Linked DNA regions of Homo sapiens: all the other regions are linked to region 2. Evidence: promoter capture Hi-C in human tissues and cell types (Jung and others, 2019). All regions are on one chromosome and are shown on one strand. Each heading gives the region's core, a stretch centred on a gene start or on the middle of the fragment in contact. The rest is flanking DNA. Distances are from core to core; before and after follow the strand shown. Region 1 holds the start of NEFH (neurofilament heavy chain). Region 2 holds the start of HORMAD2 (HORMA domain containing 2). Region 3 overlaps THOC5 (THO complex subunit 5).

Region 1 (3,524 bases), core at 119-2,618, 600 kb before region 2:
GAAAGCATCTCATCACTTCCCTGTAAGAGAGAAGGGATGCCGACTCAGGCGCCTGCTTGTCTGTTACAGGAGTGGGGGAAGAGAGGACAAGTTGAGGCTGAGAAGATGGGGAGGGGGAGGGAGAAAAGAGGACTTCCTAGTGTTGACAGAACGGCAAGATGTGGGTTCCCCATCCCCAGTTCAGCCAGAGACCCCTCAAAGTGGAACTTCCTGGGGCAGTCGGGGGTCAGGAGTTGGAGCTTGTCTCTGGGGCAAGACCCCTTCGTTGTACAGATGGAAAAACAAGGGTGGGAGGACACAGCTTGTCCAAGGTCATTCGACCAGCAAACTGCCTAGCTGACCCCAGTGTGCAGAAGCTGGCTCGGGTGACACCCATCATTTCCCCCCACCCCACACAGGGGCCAGCTCTCTCAACTTCATGCCCAAGCCCTCCTACGGTACCCCCACTGTAGGTTCTCTGCCCCTCAAACTCAGCCCAGCTTTCTCCTGCCTGTTCAGGGGACCTTCTGCCCGCTTCGCTGAGGGTCCGTCCCCTTTACTGGGGCTGGCAGCAGGGTCTCCCATCTCCTCTCTCGGGGGCCACTGCAGACTTTTTAGAGAACGCCTTGCCTCCCCCCAACCCCACCCATCCGGGGTTCCCTCTCTCCATCCTCTGCAGTGTCTCCCATACCCCCATTCAGGGTAGCCTTGCTATTCTCCCCAACTCCAGGTCCCCCTTCATCTATTCCGGGGCTGGCCGCGGAGTTTCCTGAGCGCTCTCCAAGTGGGTCCTCTAGATGTTAGGAGAACACTGTACCTCCCCCGGTCAGGGGTCTCCTGTCTCCGTTCTATGGAGCGTCCATGCTCCCATTCAGGACTGCCTTGCTCCCTCCTCTGTTCCGGGGCTGGCTGCACAGTCTCTGCACCCCCTATCCTGAAAGCCTCTCTTAACTATTTGGAAAGCCTCGTGTCCTGTCTCATACAGGGATCCCCTCATCCTAATGACTGCAATCTTCCATTGCTCCATCCCGAGGGCATCCTGCCCCTATTCCCATCAGGTTTCTCCTTGTCCTCTCCCTGTTTCAAGTCCCCTTTCTTATTCCGAACACACTCGCAGGCTCTTCCGACGCGCACCCGGGGGTCCTCACTGGCCCACTCCGGGAGTCCTCTGCCCGCTTCCCCGACCTCGAGGGTCTCCTCTGACGCAGCGTCGATTCCCCTTCCCTCCTCGGTCCCCTGCCCCGCCCCTCTCACTGCGGCGGAGCCGGTCGGCCGGGGGGCCGCAGGGGAGGAGGCGGAGAGGGCGGGGCCCTCCTCCCCACCCTCTCACTGCCAAGGGGTTGGACCCGGCCGCGGCGGCTATAAAAGGGCCGGCGCCCTGGTGCTGCCGCAGTGCCTCCCGCCCCGTCCCGGCCTCGCGCACCTGCTCAGGCCATGATGAGCTTCGGCGGCGCGGACGCGCTGCTGGGCGCCCCGTTCGCGCCGCTGCATGGCGGCGGCAGCCTCCACTACGCGCTAGCCCGAAAGGGTGGCGCAGGCGGGACGCGCTCCGCCGCTGGCTCCTCCAGCGGCTTCCACTCGTGGACACGGACGTCCGTGAGCTCCGTGTCCGCCTCGCCCAGCCGCTTCCGTGGCGCAGGCGCCGCCTCAAGCACCGACTCGCTGGACACGCTGAGCAACGGGCCGGAGGGCTGCATGGTGGCGGTGGCCACCTCACGCAGTGAGAAGGAGCAGCTGCAGGCGCTGAACGACCGCTTCGCCGGGTACATCGACAAGGTGCGGCAGCTGGAGGCGCACAACCGCAGCCTGGAGGGCGAGGCTGCGGCGCTGCGGCAGCAGCAGGCGGGCCGCTCCGCTATGGGCGAGCTGTACGAGCGCGAGGTCCGCGAGATGCGCGGCGCGGTGCTGCGCCTGGGCGCGGCGCGCGGTCAGCTACGCCTGGAGCAGGAGCACCTGCTCGAGGACATCGCGCACGTGCGCCAGCGCCTAGACGACGAGGCCCGGCAGCGAGAGGAGGCCGAGGCGGCGGCCCGCGCGCTGGCGCGCTTCGCGCAGGAGGCCGAGGCGGCGCGCGTGGACCTGCAGAAGAAGGCGCAGGCGCTGCAGGAGGAGTGCGGCTACCTGCGGCGCCACCACCAGGAAGAGGTGGGCGAGCTGCTCGGCCAGATCCAGGGCTCCGGCGCCGCGCAGGCGCAGATGCAGGCCGAGACGCGCGACGCCCTGAAGTGCGACGTGACGTCGGCGCTGCGCGAGATTCGCGCGCAGCTTGAAGGCCACGCGGTGCAGAGCACGCTGCAGTCCGAGGAGTGGTTCCGAGGTACGCAGGCGCGCGGGTGGGGGGAGGGGCGCCCCTGCTGACCCCGCAGCGAACTTTTGGGCTGCGTGACCCAAGGGGGCGCTGCCGGACTGCGCGTGGAGTGGCGCGCTGCTCACCTTCCCTCTGCAAAGTGCATGCCCCTAGTTAAATCGCAGTTTTACTCTGGGTCTCTTGTGGGACGCCCCAACTCTGGGTTGTCCTTCGGTTCCCCCTTTCCAGGTTCTTTACGGCTGTACTTCAACTCTGGGCCCCCTGCTGCTCTCTACCCCAAGCTTAGGCGACCCCACTCTGAGATCCCTCCCCCGTCAAGAAAAAAACAAGTTTCCTCTACAGGAAAAAAGTGGTGCAGGATTCTGGTCTGCAAGCGCTGGAGACTCTTAGCCCTTCTAAGTAGCAAGGCTTCCCCGCCAATGCTGCCATGCCCTCTCCTACACCCCGCAAGAAACTCTATTCCTCTCACCCCTACCAGGCTCCTTCCCACTACCTGCTCAGTGCTTAACGTTCCTACCTTAAATCTTCCACGTGGGGGTGGGTCAGGACCTTTTCGCATCCTTTCTTCCTAGAGGGAACCATTACTACAGTCAGTTGTTGCCTGTGGCGGAGGTGGCTGGTGGGCCCTTTCATGTTTTAATGTCCCCTTTCTCCTTTAGGGAAGCTGGGAGCCTCCCAAGTCTGCCCCTCCCCCAACTCCTTGCAGCCCTGAGTCAGCTAGATTGCGCTGCCCTGAGGCTGTGCCCAGCAGCTGCAGGGTGACCTTGACCAACACTTGCCCTCTCTGGTTTTCATTTCTTTTTGAGTTGAAAGAGGAGGGTAGATCAACTGGGCTGCTTAATCCGGGGAGTTCCATGATGTCTCACGAAACTGTCTGTAAAACTTTGCGTTGTTTTTGAGAGAGAGGGCAGAGGCTTCAGTGATTTTCCAAAAGCATCTGTGATCGACAATAGTTGAGAATCTCCAACCACCTGGATGGTTTCTAAGTCTTTGCCAGCACTAGCAGGGAAAGCTGGGATTTTGATGCATAGCTTTTTCTGTTCCTTTTCCACTCCTCTGCAGAGCAGAACCATCCCCTCCTCCATCTCCGCAGCAAGGCCCCTCCCTGCGCAAACCTCTTTTGGGTTTGCCAGTCGTAGGGGCAGACGTCCCAGGATTGTACTGGCCCACTCAGCTGGCTTCCTTCCTCCCCGCCAAGACTTGTGCCCTGAGTGCCACTATCTGGGGATTCAGGATG
Region 2 (3,702 bases), core at 747-3,246:
TGGTGATGCATGCCTGTAACCCCAGCTACTTAGGTGGCTGAGGCAGGAGAATCACTTGAGCCTGGGAGGTGGAGGTGGCAGCGAGCCAATATCACGCCACTGCACTCCAGCCTGGGTGACAGAGCAAGACTCTGTCTCACAAAAAAAAAAAAAAAAAAAAAAAAAAAAAATTAGATTGAGAGAAATTCTATGAAAGAAACAGAATAACGAATAACTGTGTTTGCTGGTGGGGTAGACTGCCAATAGTATAGGGCAGAGAGGGGTAAGTCTTTGGATATGGTAGCAGTTGACTGAGCTCAGATCTGAAGGCAGAAGAAAATTAGAACAGCCAGCACAGAGGGCCTAGTGATCCAGCCAGAGAGGCTGGTAAATGCGGAGGCTGAGAAGGGCTGGTGCAGACAAACCATCTGTGTGGTTGGAGCTTAAAAAGCAGTTACTTCCGGAAAGTATAGGGTGAACGCAGTAGTTCTCAACAGAGGGCAATTTTGCACACCCCATGGGACATTTGGCAAAGTCTAGAGAAATTTTTGGTTGTTATGATGGTGGGGGTGGGGAGAAGGTTGAGAAAACTTGCACTAAAAGAATATTTCAGCCCAAATTTCAGTTTTAGTCATTATGTTCTAAACTCATGTTCTCGCCAACTTGAATAGTTTTTTTTTTCTTTCCTGCAGAAACAAAATAAGAACAGGTTTCAAGTGGCTCACTCTTTCATCTACTCTCTTGGGAAATCCCCTTGGGGAGGTTCATGGGACTCCAGGAGCCTTTGGAAAGCACCACAGGATACGAAATATCTACCTAAACAGGTGAGAAACGATCCAAGGAGCCACACCCCCAACTGCTCCCACAGTTACCAGGGCAGAAAAAACTGAGATTAGGGGTAGGGCACAAAGGAGAATATATTTATGTTTTATTTGCATAATTACAAATTAATGTTAAAAAGAATGCAAAGTCAGGTCCAGGGTAGGGATGAAGAGGTTGCAGATGCCCTCAAGTATTGGAAAGCTCTGGCCTTCTGGCCTTATGTCTTTTTTCTTTCTTTTCTTTTTTTTTATTTTTGAGACAGGGTCTCCCTCTGTTGCCCAGGCTGGAGTGCAATGGTACGATCTTGGCTCACTGCAACCTCAAACTCCCCGGCTCAAGCGATCCTCCTACCTCAGCCTCCCGAGCAGCTGGGACTACAGGCGCACGTCAGGTGGCCCAGCTAATTTTTGTACTTTTTAAAATTTTTTTGAGACGGAGTCTCGCTCTGTCGCCCAGGCTGGAGTGCAATGGCGGAATCTCGGCTCACTGCAACCTCAGCCTCCTGGGCTCAAGCGATTCTCGTGCCTCAGCTTCCCAAGTAGCTGGGACTACAGGCGCGCGCCACCACGCCCAGCTAATTTTTGTATTTTTTGTAGAGACGGGTTTTCAACATGTTGGCCAGGCTGGTCTCGAATTCCTGACCTCAAGTGACGCGCCCGCCTCAGCCTCCCAGAGTGCTGGGATCCCAGGTGGAGCCACCGCGCCGCACTTCTCGGGCCTTCTTCTAACTCGGGTCCCTGGGCCCCCCAGGCTCTCGCTTCCCTCCCCTACGCCGCCCCGCGCCCGCCTCAGACCTCTCTGGGACCCGCCGGCCTGGCGTCCTGGCCCGCCCGAGCCCCACGGTCCCTCGGGTCCTAACCTCGGCGGGGCAGGCACCTCCTCAGGAAGCCCCGGAGCAGGCTGTCGTTGTATAGGTGGCCCAGGCTGGCGGCCCCTGACCGAAGGTCGCGTCGGGTCAGTGTGCAGCCCGTGGCTGAGAGGCGGCTGCTGAGGGGCCGGGCGGGCTAGGGGCCGGCTAGCCGCCGTTCGCCCCTGCTTTGCATATTCATGAAGTCTAGCGAGGCCGGTCGCCCAGGCTAGCCGTGGACGGGTCATGAATTATTCATGAGGAAACCTCTGGTCCCGCCCAGAAAGGCCTCGTTGACTATTCATGAGCCGAGGAGCGGGTTTGGGCCGGAAAAGGCCGTTGACCCCCGGTGGGAGGGAAGCGTCGACGAGCTGAGGTGAGGGCTGTTGAGACGCGAGGTCTCGGCCCAGAGAGGGCACTCGGGCGTTGTTAGTTCTGTCTTTATGTCAAAAAACAATTTTTTTTTCTTTTCTTATTACTTAAGGCTTTAAGTTGGATTTGAAAGTATCATATTTCGTGAGGGCCTAAAGTACTGTGAAGAGAATCGGGAGGGCAGGGGGCTGAGGAGGAAGGCAAAAGGGAGGCGATTTCCCCCAGAACTGGACAGAGAGCACCCAGGTAGTTTTGAAATTCAGATTTTTCTGGACATGAAATCAAACTTGCTGAGCAAGCAGCAGCCATAATGAGCCATGATGAGGCTGGCAGGGCAGACGATGTCTGTGCCCGACATTGGAGGGGGCCGTGTGTGGTGGAGCTTTGGGGAAGTTTATCTTACCTGGGTCAGATTCTCCCCAGCCATTGAGGTTTTCTGCCAGGATCGATGCCTGGTACAGGCCAAGAGGTGAGAGAGGTGGGGACAAGACACCCCGCCCCCCTTGACCTCAGCTCCCCTTTCACTTTAGTGAGGATTTGCCAATTAATCCCTATGGACTTTAGTTCCCTAAACAGAGGGAGAGAGTCTTGAACCTCAGGATTAGCCAATCGCCAAAATGTGTCCGAGTACGCAGGGCACTGGACAGGCTGTGCAGTACATCGTGTACTCAGCTGGTAGAAATGAGGGGTGGTTCTGGCCCCTAAAGGGGTTTTTAATCTCAGCAGGATCATAATCTAATTTCTCCTCCATTGGACCATCAATCTGTTGAGGTAGGAACAGTATTTTACATCTCGTAATCCTGCATGTTGTTGCCTGGCACATTGTAGTTGCCTCGTAGATGTTGAATGAATGAATAATTGAAATAGCATGAAAAAGATATTAAAAAGTCAAAAGAGCATGAACAAATACTCAATTAATATAGTGGAAGCCATTTTCTCTGAATGAGCACAGGTAGGGGAATTACCAGGGCCAAATGGAATTTGTTAAAATGGTGAATAATTTATTGAAGCAAGCTCTGTTGGAAGGTCTAAGTAATTGGGCGAACTTTGGCAAACCAAGTTCCCTTGCTTAGCCTCACTTTCCTTTTCTTTTTTCTTTTTTTTTTGTGAGATGGAGTCGAGCTCTGTGCCAGGCTGGAGTGCAGTGACGCAATCTCAGCTCACTGCAACCTCCACCTCTCGGGTTCAAGCGATTCCCCTGCCTCAGCCTCCCATGTAGCTGGGACTACAGGTGTGCACCACCACGCCCAGCTAAATTTTTTTATTTTTTTTTATTTTTAGTAGAGACAGGGTTTCACCATGTTGGCCAGGATAGTCTCGATCTCTTGACCTCGTGATCCTCCCACCTCGGCCTCCCAGAGTGCTGGGATTACAGGTGTGAGCCACTGCACCTGGCCCCTTTTCTTTATAGTTTTATGTTTAGGTTTAAATCCATGATCCATTTTGCATTAATATTTGTATACAGTGTGAGATTTAGGTTAAGTTTCTTTTAATTCTCTGTTCTTCCCCCCACCCTCCAGATGTCCTTTTGTTTCAGCATCATTTGCTGAAAAAAAGATTCTTCCTCCACAGAATTGGATCTTCTTTAAATCAAAGGGGTTGGAAGATGTCTGTGCTCCCTTCCAGCTTTAGGAATCTATTGAACCCATTTATGTTAACGTACACTTCTTTTGAGTAAAGCC
Region 3 (3,582 bases), core at 189-2,688, 530 kb before region 2:
CCCCAACCTACCTTCCCAACTTCATTTCTTGCATTCCTATTCCTACCGACCTTCCCACTGTCCCCAACCTCTGCTCCTAGCTGCAACTGCACCCTGCAATCCCAGTTCCCCAAACACTCCATGTCTTTTCCCCTGCTTGCAAAGATCTTCCTTTTCCTCCCTATATCCTTCAAGACTAAGCAATGCTCATCTGCTCTAGGAAGCCTGTCAGGTCTCCCCAAAGCCCTCTTTTGGCTACTTTGGGTACACTATTAGGGAATTTATCTCTATGAATCATTTACCTGTCTTCCCACCTAGATTGTGAGCTCTACCCTCTTCCCCCTGAGCCTGGCAGAGTGCTCCATAAATTAGTATCCAAACTCCTCGGTCTGGCATTTAAAGACACTCCCAATACTACTGTGATCACTGTGTGCTGGGCCTTGATCTAACTACTTTATGGGTATGTTCTCATTTGCTCCTTATAACAAACTTTTCAGCTAAGAACTACCACCATTTCACAGATGACAAAACTGAGGCTCGCAAGGGGAATTACTTGCAAGTAATTGCGAGTCACATGACTAGTAGGCCAAAATCCGGATCTATCCAATCAATGCCATACTGGTGCTCTTAACTACACTTTTATGCCTCCTAGTCCTGCCAGCCTCTCATCTAGTGATGCCATTGACTCCCAGGTTGATCCTAGAATTTAAAGTATAGAACCTACATTTCATGGGGCTCTACAGTCACAAAGCATCCTCCCTTGTTGCCTCACCACAGCCTCCTGAGGTGGGCAGCACTGTCCCCTTTACCCTAATCCCTCTTGCTCTGTCACCCAAGCTGGAGTGCAGTGGCACAATCATCACTCACTGAAGCTTCCACATCCCCGACTTGAGGGAGCCAATAGTTTGTCACGGTAAAAGTCAGAGAGCCCTGAACTGGAATCTCCATTCTACTCTTTCATGGCTATGAGTCCCCGGACGAGTCACTTCACTTTTCTCTGGGTCTGATTCCTCACAAATCAAATGAGAATAACAGTCCCTACCACAGGGGTTGTTGTGGGCTTTAACACAGGAGGCATTCCACTGGGGAAGGTGATGAAGATGACCTGGGACTGTGGCTTCAGATGATGCATAGGTGATCTTAAATAATGCTGAACACCTAAGGAGAAAGTTAATCCCTTTTCAATTCTTATTTTGAAACTTCTGATTGCTTCAAGGAGAACATCTCAGTTCCCTAGTTTGTCTTTAACATCTATGAATGCCAATGTTCCTTTGTAACAAAAGAACTCTATCCCACAGCCTTAAACAACAAAATCTAGCCAGAGTTTGTTAACAATGATCTAGTTGCATTATATTAACTATATTAATTTTTACCTTCTACATAAAACAAGTGAAAGCAGCTTTCCATTTCTGGTGGAGAGATTTCAAGTTTTCTCTCAAAGTAAATTTGAGTTTAAAAAGTGACTTGGCTGGGCGCAGTGGCTCAGGCCTGTAATCCCAGCACTTTGGGAGGCTGAGGCGGGTGGATCACCTGAGGTCAGGAGTTTGAGACCAGCCTGGCCAACATGGTGAAACCCCGTCAGTACCACAAATACAAAAATTAGCCGGGAGTGGAGGCGGGCGCCTGTAATCTCAGCTACTCAGGAGGCTGAGGTAGGAGAATCACTTGAACCCAGGGAGCAGAGGTTGCAATGAGCCGAGATCGCAGCCACTTCACTCCAGCCTGGGCAACAGAGCGAGATTCAGTCTCAACAACAACAAAAAAAGTGACTGGGCCCAACACCATGGCTCACACCTGTAATCCCAACACTTTGGGAAACCAAGGCAAGCAGAGGTGAGAGAATCGCTTGAGCCCAGGCGTTCAAGACCAGAGTGGGCAACAGAGCGAGACCCCATCTTTAGAAAACATTTTAAAATTAGCCTAGTATGGCGGTGCACACCTGTGGTCCCAAGCTACTCTGGAGGCTAGGGTGGGAGGATGGCTTGAGCCCAGAAGTTCCAGGCTGCAGTGAGCTATGATCGCGCCACTGCACTCAGTCTTGACAACAGAGATCCCGTTGCAAAAAAAAAATTTGGACTGGATTAAAAATTTTTAGTAAACCCCTCCCCCTCCCCCCTCCCCCTCTCTCCACGGTCTCCCTCTGATGCCGAGCCGAAGCTGGACTGTACTGCGGCCATCTCGGCTCACTGGAACCTCTCTGCCTGATTCTCCTGCCTCAGCCTGCCGAGTGCCTGCAATTGCAGGCGCGCGCCGCCACGCCTGACTGGTTTTCGTATTTTTTGGTGGAGACGGGGTTTCGCTGTGTTGGCCAGGCTGGTCTCCAGCTCCTGACCGCGAGTGATCGGCCAGCCTCGGCCTCCCGAGGTGCCAGGATTGCAGACGGAGTCTCGTTCACTCAGTGCTCAATGGTGCCCAGGCTGGAGTGCAGTGGCGTGATCTCGGCTCGCTACAACCTCCACCTCCCAGCCGCCTGCCTTGGCCTCCCAAAGTGCCAAGATTGCAGCCTCTGCCCGGCCGCCACCCCGTCTGGGAAGTGAGGAGCGTCTCTGCCCGGCTGCCCATCATCTGGGATGTGAGGAGCCCCTCTGCCCGGCTGCCCAGTCTGGGAAGTGAGGAGCACCTCTTCCCGGACCCCATCCCGTCTAGGAAGTGAGGAGTGTCTCTGCCCGGCCGCCCATCATCTCAGATGTGGGGAGCACCTCTGCCCCGCCGCCCCGTCTGGGATGTGAGGAGCACCTCTGCCCGGCTGCGACCCCGTCTGGGAGGTGAGGAGCGTCTCTGCCCGGCTGCCCCGTCTGAGAGGTGAGGAGCCCCTCCACCCAGCAGCCGCCCCGTCCGGGAGGTGGGGGGCAGCCCCCGCCCGGCCAGCCGCCCCGTCCGGGGGGGAGGTGGGGGCCAGCCCCAGCCCGGCCAGCCGCCCCGTCGGGTCGGGGGTAGGGGGGCGCCTCCGCCTGGCCGCCACCCCGTCCGGGAGGTGGGGGGCGCCTCTGCCCGGCCGCCCCTTCTGGGAGGTGAGGAGCCCCTCTGCCTGGCCGCCACCCCGTCTGGGAGGTGTACCCAACAGCTCATTGAGAACGGGCCATGATGACGATGGCGGTTTTGTCTAGTAGAGAGGGGGGAAATGTGGGGAAAAGATAGAGAAATCGGATTGTTGCTGTGTCTGTGTGGAGAGAGGTGGACAAGGGAGACTCCATTTTGTTCTGTACTGAGAGAAATTCTTCTGCCTTGGGATGCTGTTGGTCTATAGCCTTACCCCCAACCCCGTGCTCTCTGAAACATGTGCTGTGTCCACTCAGGGTTAAATGGATTAAGGGCGGGGCAAGATGTGCTTTGTTAAACAGAAGCTTGAAGGCAGCATGCTCCTTAAGAGTCATCACCACTCCCTAATCTCAAGTACCCAGGGACACAAACACTGCGGAAGGCTGCAGGGTCCTCTGCCTAGGAAAACCAGAGACCTTTGTTCACTTGTTTATCTGCTGACCTTCCCTCCACTATTGTCCTATGACCCTGCCAAATCCCCTCTGCGAGAAACACCCAAGAATTATCAATAAATACTAAAACAAACAAACAAACAAATTTTTAATAAACGGTAGTAGAGGTGGT

Evidence for each region. The method cuts DNA at HindIII sites, captures the fragments that hold promoters and counts their contacts. A contact is called where the count stands out against the background at its distance.
Region 1: a contact is called between the fragment with the promoter of NEFH here and the fragment with the promoter of HORMAD2 in region 2, in 4 of the 25 tissues and cell types used here (adrenal gland, dorsolateral prefrontal cortex, lymphoblastoid cells and 1 more).
Region 3: a contact is called between a fragment that was not itself captured here and the fragment with the promoter of HORMAD2 in region 2, in 1 of the 25 tissues and cell types used here (lymphoblastoid cells).

What each region holds. Positions count from the first base shown.
Region 1 is chr22:29,478,850-29,482,373 of GRCh38, forward strand. NEFH (neurofilament heavy chain) reads left to right here and starts at 1,369. Exons shown (of 4, transcript NM_021076.4): 1 at 1,369-2,296. The coding sequence starts at 1,414. RefSeq lists an enhancer at 2,391-3,245. The HindIII fragment of the contact is 10,845 bases long and covers 1-3,524 here.
Region 2 is chr22:30,078,468-30,082,169 of GRCh38, forward strand. HORMAD2 (HORMA domain containing 2) reads left to right here and starts at 1,997. Exons shown (of 11, transcript NM_152510.4): 1 at 1,997-2,024. HORMAD2-AS1 (HORMAD2 and MTMR3 antisense RNA 1) reads right to left here and starts at 1,790. Exons shown (of 5, transcript NR_110541.2): 1 at 1,661-1,790. RefSeq lists silencers at 29-148, 1,598-1,647 and enhancers at 199-278, 1,453-2,150, 1,988-2,067. The HindIII fragment of the contact is 22,926 bases long and covers 1-3,702 here.
Region 3 is chr22:29,549,707-29,553,288 of GRCh38, forward strand. The region is part of intron 1 of THOC5 (THO complex subunit 5); the gene reads right to left. Among named protein-coding and RNA genes, the nearest start is that of THOC5, 2.3 kb to the right of the region's middle. RefSeq lists an enhancer at 2,174-2,873. The HindIII fragment of the contact is 5,636 bases long and covers 1-3,582 here.